Linked DNA regions of Homo sapiens: regions 1 and 3 are each linked to region 2. The links are contacts of gene promoters, found by promoter capture Hi-C in human tissues and cell types (Jung and others, 2019). All regions are on one chromosome and are shown on one strand. Each heading gives the region's core, a stretch centred on a gene start or on the middle of the fragment in contact. The rest is flanking DNA. Distances are from core to core; before and after follow the strand shown. Region 1 overlaps SLC6A20 (solute carrier family 6 member 20). Region 2 holds the start of CCR1 (C-C motif chemokine receptor 1). Region 3 has its middle 14 kb from the start of LTF.

Region 1 (3,657 bases), core at 943-3,442, 450 kb before region 2:
GGCAGTGAGTCCCAAAGGCGTTGCCCACAGCCACCATCACCACCTCCATCATGCCTGTAGCTCTCTTTTCCCTCTTCTTTACTTTTAAACCTACGGTTAGCAGCAGCACAACAGCAGCCAGTTTCTCATCGACTTGACAAACTAAGTACGTGTGTTTTTGAATACACGTACACAGTATAAAAAGTATCTTTGGCATTTTGGGAGATGTTGGCCCAACGAAACTCCCCATTTCACACAGGAGGAACCAAGGCCCAGGGCTGCGATGCCTTCTTCCTTAGGGCTTGGTAAAGACCAGGCCCAGAACCTGGGTTGGCCTCCTGCCTCCAGCCCAGAGCCTTTAAACCTGCTCCCTACAGCGGAAGAGGCAGCCTTGGCGGGAGGGGCTGGGGTGGTGTGGGTGTGACGTCACCAGCTGCAGCCACAGCCCCTCCCTCCCTGGGACCTGCTGCATGTCCTGGGTGTCCATGCGAGGCTGTGTGGCGACCACCACCTGCCCTTTGCTGCTGCTGACGTAGTTGGACTCTAGGCTGCAGGCCATGAAGGCTCATGTATGTGACACGAAAACCTGGGGCTTTCAAAATCAGACAGGTGAAAAAGTGTTGGGGGTCCTCTTGTCCCTTCACACCCCCATAACCCCCCCCCCTTTCCTGGATGGAGAAAGTTGGGAAGAGCTGGCTGCAGAAAAGCCCCAGGACACTGTTGCTGGGTGGTCACTAGATGGCGGTGTCACCTGAGCAAGCCGAAGCACTCCCCTCCTGCCACTTACATGGTCAGTCCACCTACGACATCTCCAAGGCACGTTTGTTTCTGCCTCTGTCTCCCTTCACCAGCCCCTTTTTGATGGACTTGTGCCCCTCACCCATCTAGTGACCTCCAGCGGGCCCTAGGTTCTGTTCCTCTCTCCCAACCTTCTCTTTTTATCCTGAAACACTCACCCTCTCAGTGACCAATCTCTTTCTCCCTCTAGACTGGCATTTCCTAGGTGACCAGGGATTTTCCCAATTTTAGTACTGAAAGTTCCACGTCCCAGAAAACCCCTCAATCCTGGGGAAACAGGGAGAGTTGGTCCCCTTAACACTAGTGTCCTCAAAATGTTAGTAGCTAAGGGTGGGAGTCGGGTGAGAGGAGGGTGAAAAGGCATTCCTTGACCAAGTAAGTCTGGAAATGCTGCAATTCTAACCCTCTCTTTGGGATCCACAACTGTCTTTAAGATTCTGAGAAGTCCTACGGGAAAGACATCAATTTGGCTTTGTTTAACTTATGTCCTGATGGATCATGGGAGATCCCTCAGCATGGCACGGGACCCTGGCCTTTCCGGGGACACAGCAGGGATTGCTGCTTCAGGGATGCCTGCCTCCCAGAGTGTTGTCAATGTCTCCCTCCCCACCCTGAACCAGCACAGAGGATCAAAAAGACTGGGGAAGAGGGCAGAAAACAACGTGGCACAGCCTCCTCGCCCAAACCGCACCCACTAGAGCAGCGCTGCCCAAACTGTGATGTGCCTCAGGCCCCCTGGACATAGTGTGAAGATACAGGATCTGATTCAGCAGGATGGGGTGGGCCCGAGCTTCTGCAGTCCCAACGAGCGCCTTGTTGCTGCTGCTCCCGCTCTAGGGACCACACTTGAGGTAGCAAAGCTCTCTAGGCCAGTGGTTCTCAAAGTGTGGGTGCCAGACTCATCTGGGAACCTGCTAGAAATGTGAATTCTTGGCCCTCCCCTGGCCTGCCTGATCAGAACCCTGGGGGTGAGTCTCACAGCTGTGTTTGACCAGCCCAAGGGACTCTGAGGCACACTCGAGTTTGAAGGTTGCTCTAGACCAGTGGCTCTTGCCCCAGCTGCACATTCCATCACCTGGGGAGAACTAAAACATTCCAGTCCCGTGCTGTGCACTGGGATTGAGAACCTCACTGACTAAATTTTGAATCTGCCAAATTTTCTAAGGTCTAAGTTATCAACTGGACTTTGGTCAGGGTTCTTGGAAAATACTGATGTTGGCCGATGATCAGAGCATCCAGTGCCTGGAGGCACAATTCCCTGCCCCAGTAAGCTGTGGGGGTCCAGCAGGGTCAACCCTAAAACAGCCTATGATACAAAGCAAAAGTACAGGGAATAGAGAAAAAGATATTCACTGAAGCAAACTGAGCATGGAATAGAGGCAGAGCATAAGCTGAGATCTGCGGGCAAAGAACAAACGTTGAGTCATGATGCGAAGCTTAAAGAAGAGGTGAAGATGTGCATCAAGAAACAGCTGTTTTCCTTGAGGGGCGTGGCCTCTGTGGCTGTGTTTTCCCTATGCAAATGAGGGTCCTGGGCCTCCTCACCTCCTCAGCCCGTACACGTAGCACACGGCAATCGTCTCCACCAGCACGATGAGCAGCAGGGACAGTGTGGCCGCGTAGTCGTTGAATATGTCAAACCAGTAGTTCCCAGCCTCCATCGTGAACACCATGCCAATGGCACAGTTGACAAGGCACACCAGACCTGGGGGCCACAAGACCAGCTGCTCACCTGCCCGAGACCCCCCCACTACTGCTTACCAGTTCTCTACAGGACAGTGGGGTCGTCGGCCCTCAGGGAATTTTGGCTGATTGCTTCATCCACATGGGTTGAAAGAGCTGTCATGGTTTGGACTCTCTGAAGGTGTGTGCCACGTGTGTGGGGCAGGGGGCACAATGGTGTCCCGAAGCGTGTTGGCAGGGGTCACTGATGTTGACTCACTGAGCTGCCCTGCAGGGGTGGCAGAGCTTAAAGCTCAATGAACAAGCAGACGTAGTGGGCACTGTCATTCCAGGATCCCGCCCAGGCTGTGGGTCTACAATTATAACCCCCGCTGTTTATCCCAACAACTCAGCCCTGGAGCTCATGAGAAATGAATCAGGGGAGGAGGCTTGAATATGGAGTGGCCCCATCAGGACTTCCTAGAGAGGACTTGCCTCCACCCAGAAGAGGGTGGGGCAGGGAAGAGACAAATGTCCACCCAGATCCTCCCTTGTGCCAGGCACTTGCAATGCGTTGGACCCTTAGGCCTCTGAGGCAGGTGTCCGGAGCCCCCTTTCACAGATGGGAAGGCAAGGCTCAGAGATGTCTAAGGCTCCCCCGACATCCCATAGCACATCCATGGCAGAGTGAGGATTCAGACCCAGGCCCTTTAGCCTCCAGAACCTGGGCCTTCATCCCAGGCCCCTCCAGCTGCCTTCCCTGGGGACCCCATGCATGTCTGAGTCTAGAGCCCACACCTGCCCTTTCCACTAGCACACCGTACACTGCCAGCTACCGAGCCCTCCTGCTATCCCGACGGGGACACACAAGGAGAAAGGGGCCATGCGCTGGCTGAAGGCTATGGGCACACCTAGTGTTGGCTACAAAGACCAGGCCTGAGGAGGGGGTCTAAGTGCTGCAGCACTCTGAAGAGGTGGGGGCAACTCCAACTGGAGTGGTCGGGGCTTGAAGGAGATGGCCTGGGAGCTGGGTTTGATTCATCCTGCATGTCAAGGAATGGTGTTTTCAGAGACGGAGTAGTGTAGGCCACAGGGTCCTTGAGGCACTGCCTGATTGGAGTGGAGCAGATGGGCCAGGGAGTGAAACCATGAGAGATGTAATTGGAAAAGCCAGCTCATTTCCTAAGATCTGAAATGTCCATCAACAGCAGAATGGAT
Region 2 (3,468 bases), core at 480-2,979:
CTGGGAAGGTTTGGCAAAGGCAAAGGCAAGTTGAGTCAACATTGTCAGGTGGCATTTTAAACCGAGTCACCTCCATACACCCCCTACCTCCAACCCATTTGTTATTTCCCCAACTTGTTAAGCCCCAGGCAACCACTCCAAGGCATGCTGTTCCTAAAGGGAGGTGATCTGGGGTGGGGCCCGAGAAGAGAAACCAAAGGACCATGTTGTCATCTAATCTGCCAGCCCTGCTGTAGTCTACTGCAGAAGTCTGCCTCAAGGCCACTGCACAGTGGTCAGCTATAGCCCTGGATCCTGGACCCTCCACTGCTAGTGTCCTCCAGCCTGGGAGTTGGTGAAGTCTCTGAGCAGAGATAGAGCAGTCTGTGATGGTGAAAGACACCCAGGCCTATGGTGCGCTGGCTGGCTTATACTGGTTTATAAATGCCAATTGCGTGCATCTCTTCCCCACTCCACATTCAGCATGTTGGTAGCTTGAAACTGACCACAGTGGGGGCATTTATACCATGAAAATCAACAAATGTTATAAAGCAGGGATCTTTTCTTCAGAAGAGTCAGTTGTTGAACATTTACCAGCACATCACTGCCCAGGCCCCACATTCTGAACAGTCCAGCACTGTCCCACTGCTCGGTGCGGGAACTAAAGGATCAGTGAGTGGCACATAGCCTGGTGCCAGGTTGTGCAAACTTTTGGGAGTTTCCATCTCTTCTTTGAAATCTGGGACCCACCAAGACCACCTATGAAGTAGATACCTATACGGAGCCACCATGCCCCTCTATCTTCAGAACAAAATCCTGACCTGTGTCTTTGTTAGTAGAGCAGAACAGATGCCCCCCAAGATCACCTGGCCAGCTCCTTGCCTTTGGGTGAGTGAAAGCCTACCTCTTCCAAAGATAGCAGTGCCAATTTTGAGGATCCTTGGTTCTAGTCTTCTTAAGAGATAGGTTCAGTATCAAATCATCCTTGCATCTGCCAAGATTTTTCTAGCTAATATTTCCCTCTTGCTATAATTTCTTCATACACCATGTTTGGTTTTCCTTTACATGGGGGAATTTGGCAAGCAATTTTTTTTTTTTTTTCAGACAGACTCTTGCTCTGTCGCCAGGCTGGAGTGTAGTGGTGCAATCTCAGCTCACTGCAACCTCCACCTCCCGGATTCGAGTGATTCTCCTGCCTCAGCCTCTTGAGTAGCTGGGACTACAGGCATGCGCCACCATGCCCGGCTAATTTTTATTTTTAGTAGAGACAGGGTTTCACCATATGGCCAGGATTGTCTCCATCTCTTGACCTCATGATCCACCTGCCTCGGTCTCCCAAAGTGCTGGGATTACAGCCGTGAGCCACTGCGCCCCGCCAAGTAATTTCTTATTGAATAGGTTTCCACAGAAAACACCTTTTGTCCCTTAGTACTGACTGACTTTCTTAATCAGTAACCAAAAGCCAATCCTTCAAGTAAGCTTCCTTTTTAGCAAAAAAGCCTATATTTCATCTGAGCACCCAGCTTTATAAATCCACCATTCTCAGTATTGCTACAGTATTAATTGCCTTGGAGATGCATCCATGGGCTACTTAGACATTTGCCCAGCCTACTCAAAGAATTCCCCCTACCTTTGAGGAGCCCCTAGCTGCATGCATGTCTTTGAACAACACTGCCCTCCACAGTAACAGATAAGACAGAAAAGACAAGTGACACTTACTCTGGTTCCAAGGGACTTTGTCCGTGAAGTCTTTGTTTCTGGGGCTTTCTGGGTTTTTATGAATTCAAGTTTCAAGATCCTGACCAAGTAGGAAGTACTCAGCTTCCTGTGTGATGATGGAGAATTGGCTCCAGTTTCACAGTCTTTCAAAATGACAAGAAAGGGACAAAGTTCTTCTTTTTGTGTGGTTTGGTGCTCATGAATGGCCACAACGCCCACCAGTGGCCACTTCCTGGAAGCCAAGTTAACTGCGAGGATTTTCTCTGCTCACTCTGAGCCTCTTGAGTCTTGGCCCTGGGAGCTCAGCCTTAAGGGAATTGGGGGCAGGTGAAGCTGAGTTGGGTGAGGTGGGTGGCAGTGAGATGTTCCCAGAATGTTTGGAGCAATTGAAGTGTGGGATGTGTGTATGTGGGATGGGGGCAGGGCATAGAGCTCTTGTGGTCAGCGGCAGACTTCTTTTTTTTCTTCTTCTTAAAGATTGTGAATGGAAGGATTTAAACTGGAACCCTGAGTCCTGTTCCTCAAAACTAACTGACATGGGTGCTCACAGAGGCAGCAGCTTCTCTTTGGCACCCTATGCCCCTCGGCTTCTGGGAGCTCATTGTCCCTCTGCTCTCTGCTCCCCAAGTCCCTCCCCACCAAACCTCAGAGAGTGGCTTTGCCCCAGGAACCTCCAGCATGAAGGGAATATAGGTCTGTTGGTTACATTTTGACCTTCCCTTTCTGATGCCCCATTCCTGTTTTACGTGATGGTCAAACATGGGCCAAGTTCAAATCCCAGCTCTCCACCTGTGACATGGGCAGATCACTCACCTTTCTAAGTCTTGGTTCCTACTCTGCTAAATGGGAGTATTGAATGCTTACCTCAGAGGAGAAGCACGAAGTCAACTTGTACATGAAAAATGTCAGAGTGCCTGGCACAGTGAAAAATGTCTGACAAATGATGAGTACTGTGACTCTCCTCACAACTGCCAACACCTACTCTGCCTCTGCCCTTGTGTCTTCTATAAAGTGGGGACACCCCTAACCTTCCTCACGGCATTGCTACAAAGCACTGTTTCAGAAATCATCAGTGTGAATGTGCTTTGAAAAGATCACTTGTCTCTTCATGGTTCAGTTTTCTTATCTGTAAAATGAAGAATTCAGACAAGATGGCCTAAGCTTGACATCTGATCATCACTCAGCTTCACCCCAAAGAAATAAATGGGGGTCTGCATGTGCCTGGCTATTTGCAGTACTTTGCTGGTGGATCAGTTTCCAAAGAGAACAGAGGCTTGTGAGGCCTGCCTTTTCCTTGATCCTGTCTAAAGTAAGGGACATGGTCAGTACCTCATCCTTGACCAGGCTTCCAGCTCTGCTCTAGGTTTCATTCCACAGAGGGGATGTACCAGGCAAATCTGCTTGTTCATTGAACAAATATTTATTCAGTACTCACAATGTGCCGGACATTGTGTTAGGTGCTTGGGATATAGTGGTGAAGAAAGAGGCTGGATCCATTCTTTGAGAGCTTATAGCTTAGGAAGGATCACAAACAATTAACCAAGTTACCACAATGAGGAACAGCTTTTGTAGTGGCCTGGGAAATACCCTGGGCTAAGGAAGGGTGCATCGAGGGTGGGAAGGGGTGAGGAAGTCCTTTAGAGCAGTGGTTCTCAAAGTGAGGTCCCTGGACCAGCAGCATTCACATTCCCTGGGACATTGCTAGCCATGCAAGTTCTGGGGTTACATGCCAGATATACTGACTCAGAAATCCTGGGGATGCGGCCAAGC
Region 3 (3,484 bases), core at 132-2,631, 270 kb after region 2:
AGCCCAGATGAAGCCTGGCCCTTCTGAGCACATCCCAAGGCCACACCTGCATTCTAGGCGACTCCCTTGTCCCTTTGATTCACTGGGTAGTCTGGTGCCTGAAAGGCAGGGTCAGTGATGAGAGTGGTTAAACATCGCAGGCAGGGGAGTTTGAAACCAGCTCTACCTCTTCCCCACTCCCCAGATCTAGCCACGTCATTCAGCCTGTCTCAGCTTCAGTGTCCCCATGTGAAAATAGGAATACTAAAAGCATCTCCCTCATAAAATTGTTAGAACTTAATGAAGTAACTTATAAAGATGCTTAGAACAGTGCCCAGCACATAGGGGCTGCTCAATCGATATTTTTTGAACGAAGGAATGGGTGTGTGAATTAATAAATGAATGGATGTAAGATTTTCAGTACAAGGCCAAACCATACAGTGAAAACTCAGTCAATATTAACTATTATTGTTATTGTTTCCATGCATTTCTGGTCCCCGTTGTGAGCCAGAACCTATGCAGAGTCCTGGGAATCTGCAAAGAGTTCCCTTTCCCCAGGCGGCTCCAGTTGAGTCACAATCCAACAGAAGGTGTTAGCAAAGGCAAGTTCACCCTACAGGGAGGACAGAGGGCCGAGCGGGAGCCACTTTCCCCAGTCTTCCTTCTCAAGCTAACCCAGCAGCGTGCCCCAGCCCTTTTACAGACATCTGTCTTTGTGATTCCTTGGGCCCCTCTCCACACCCACACTCCTTATGCCCACATTCTGTCCTGTTATCTGCAACCCTTTGTAACTCTTTCACTCCTCTCTCTTTTATGACGTCCACTTCTCTCTCCAGTTCTCTGTCTCTCTCACCATCATGCCCTCTTCCCGCCCCACTGCCCTGAGACTTTTCCTAATGGCCCCTCTCAGCAGCCTGGGCAGCCTCCTTGAATTTCTGCTCACCAGTAACCCAGCTGCGTCCCGACTGTCAGTCTTGGCTTTGCTCCACACATCTTCTCTCTCCCCCTCCAAGGGTCTCTGGGCTACAAGGGAAGCTTTCCCAGAACCCATGTGGCCACTCAGTCACTTCCCCAGAGGCTGAAGGTCGCTATGTTGGTGACAAAGGGCAGGTGACACACTTTGCTCTCCACAGTGCTATCAGCAGGCATGAGCAGGGTCCCTAGAGAGTGCCAGGGACCAAAGGGTGAGGCCAGGTCCACCCCGCTCTTAACCATCACTCCCCATCTTCCTGGACAGTGCAGCTGGATGAGGAAGCAGCCGCAGGATGCAACGTAGATGCTAGAGGGCCAAGGGGAGGACAGAAGAGGGTAGGGCAGAAGATGACTGGCAGAATGAGGAACTAGTGGGTGGGCCTGGGGACCTCGTAGATGAAGCAGAACCTGATGGCTATTTGGAAATGGAGGAAAGAGTCACAAAAGTGAGCAATTTCCAGGATATTTGGAAATATTCTGGCTTGAGGTTACTACCTTGAAATAATTTGACCAAGAAAATCAGACACTCTCAGAAAATAATATTTTTTATGCCATTTTACAAATGAGGTCTCTAAGCCCAGAGAGGGCGTGTGGCCTGCTCAGACCTGACACAGTGCGGCCAGGTAGAATCCAGCTTCCTGACTCCTTGCACTTAGAGGGGTTCCCTCAACTAAAGCCATCCTCACAGAGCATTTATCCTGGACCAGGTCCTTGTTAGGTACTGGGTCACCAAACTGAGTTAGACTCAGTTCTGCCCCCAAGGGCAACAGACAAGGGAATAGTCAGTTACCACCATAGGAGATGAGAATGTCCATGGACCACGGTAACAGAAGAAGCATGGAGAACCACGCCTGTGCCCAAGGCTCTGTGCGTGGTAGGGAATCTGCCTCCCACCTGTGGCAGCTCTGGAGGAGGGGCAGCCTGACCTGTGACAGGCAGGGAAAACCCCATAGCCCCCTCTCTCCCACCCTGGCATCTTCCAGCAACCTCCACAAAGTGGGTTTGGCCGGAACCAAGTGATTGAGGGGGAGATTACAGGGCCCGGGAATTGTGGGGCCCTGTGGGTACCTAGAAGACCATCTGCTTTTACTCTGAGGATGTAGGAGCCAAGGCAGAAGGCTGAGAATGGACTGAGAGGCAGAACAAGTGGGGAGCAGAGAGATGATTAGGGAGGCTCCAGCAGTGACCTGGGAGAGAGATGAAGTGGCTTTTCTGTTTGTTTGTTTGTTTGTTTGTTTGTTTGTTTGTGACAGAGTCTCGCTCTGTCACCCAGTCTGAAGTGCAGTGGCACGATCTCAACTCACTCCAACCTCTGCCTCCAGGGTTCAAGCGATTCTCCTGCCTCAGCCTCCCAAGTAGCAGGGATTACAGGCAAGTGCCACCACCCCTGGCTAATTTTTGTATTTTTAGTAGAGACGGGGTTTCACCATGGCTGGTTTCTAGGCTGGTCTCGAACTCCTGACTTCAAGTGATCTACCCACCTCAGCCTCCCAAAATGCTGGGATTACAGGCGTGAGCCACTGCGCCCGGCCAGAAGTGGCTTTGATTAGGATGTGGCAGTGGAGAAATAGTGAGATGGCTGGATTCTTGACATATTTTAAAGGAGGAGGTCATGGGATTTGCTTACATTACAAGGGGATGTGGGGTGTGAAGGAGAGAGGTGGATGATGGCACCAAGGTGTTTGGCCTGAGAAACTAAAAGGAGGTAGTTTCATTAACTGAGATGGGGAAGACTGGGAATAAAGCAGATTGAGGAGGAGGTGGATCAGAAGCTCCATTCTAATCATGGTAAGACTGACAGACCCCGGACACCCAGGTGGATCGTGGAAGAGCCAGCTCCCTGACTCGCTGCCATTCAGAATGGCATTGTTGCTATAAAAGCCAAAGTTAGAGGCCTTGAACTTTATTTAAAACTAATTTTTGGACCATGGGCTCATTTTCCTCCAAGAACAATGCCTATTCACACAAATTGCTGTGTCCAGCTCCTGGGGTTTGTAGAATGCTCTGTATCATGTCCCTGGATTGTTCTCACATTTCCAGAGTTTGGACTCCGCAACCTTCCTAACTACCCTTGAAACCCCACTCTGATGTTTCCACACCATGCCCATTGTGCCTGTGGTGATGGATTGTCATGCCCTTGGCTGCAGGGACCTGCCACTCTCCTGCCTTATTTCATGCACGTTGGTTCCTTCCTTGCTCGTGGACCCAGAGAGGCACTAAAGCTTTTCTCTGCATGGTCCCTATCTGGTGCTGGGCCTGGCTCTGGGAATTTCAAATTAAAACCTGCTTGTGGTCAATTGTTGACAGCATCATGGCCTTTCCATGAGAGTAATAGCAGGAAATGTGTGTCCCAGCTACAAAGAGGACAATGGCACATTCACGGGCCTCAAAAGGGTTTGTGTGCAGCTTTGGACAATGTTGATTTGTTATTTTACGGGTCACTCTGCATTGCCCACCATTGTCAGTACACAAAAGAACGTATTGAGACTAGATCTGAGCAGTGAAATACAAGACGTGAGAATTAAACCTAGGA

What was found. Contacts are between HindIII fragments. The study calls those that stand out against the background at their distance.
Region 1: a fragment that was not itself captured here is called in contact with the fragment with the promoter of CCR1 in region 2 in 1 of the 25 tissues and cell types used here (bladder).
Region 3: a fragment that was not itself captured here is called in contact with the fragment with the promoter of CCR1 in region 2 in 4 of the 25 tissues and cell types used here (IMR-90 fibroblasts, aorta, bladder and 1 more).

Annotation. Positions count from the first base shown.
Region 1 is chr3:45,760,591-45,764,247 of GRCh38, forward strand. SLC6A20 (solute carrier family 6 member 20) reads right to left here. Exons shown (of 11, transcript NM_020208.4): 9 at 2,323-2,482. Among named protein-coding and RNA genes, the nearest start is that of SLC6A20, 34 kb to the right of the region's middle. The HindIII fragment of the contact is 7,195 bases long and covers 1-3,657 here.
Region 2 is chr3:46,206,584-46,210,051 of GRCh38, forward strand. It overlaps CCR1 (C-C motif chemokine receptor 1), which reads right to left and starts at 1,730. Exons shown (of 2, transcript NM_001295.3): 1 at 1,699-1,730. The HindIII fragment of the contact is 6,364 bases long and covers 1-3,468 here.
Region 3 is chr3:46,477,345-46,480,828 of GRCh38, forward strand. It overlaps a transcript of LTF not described here. Among named protein-coding and RNA genes, the nearest start is that of LTF, 14 kb to the left of the region's middle. RefSeq lists enhancers at 581-1,082, 1,083-1,582. The HindIII fragment of the contact is 7,156 bases long and covers 1-3,484 here.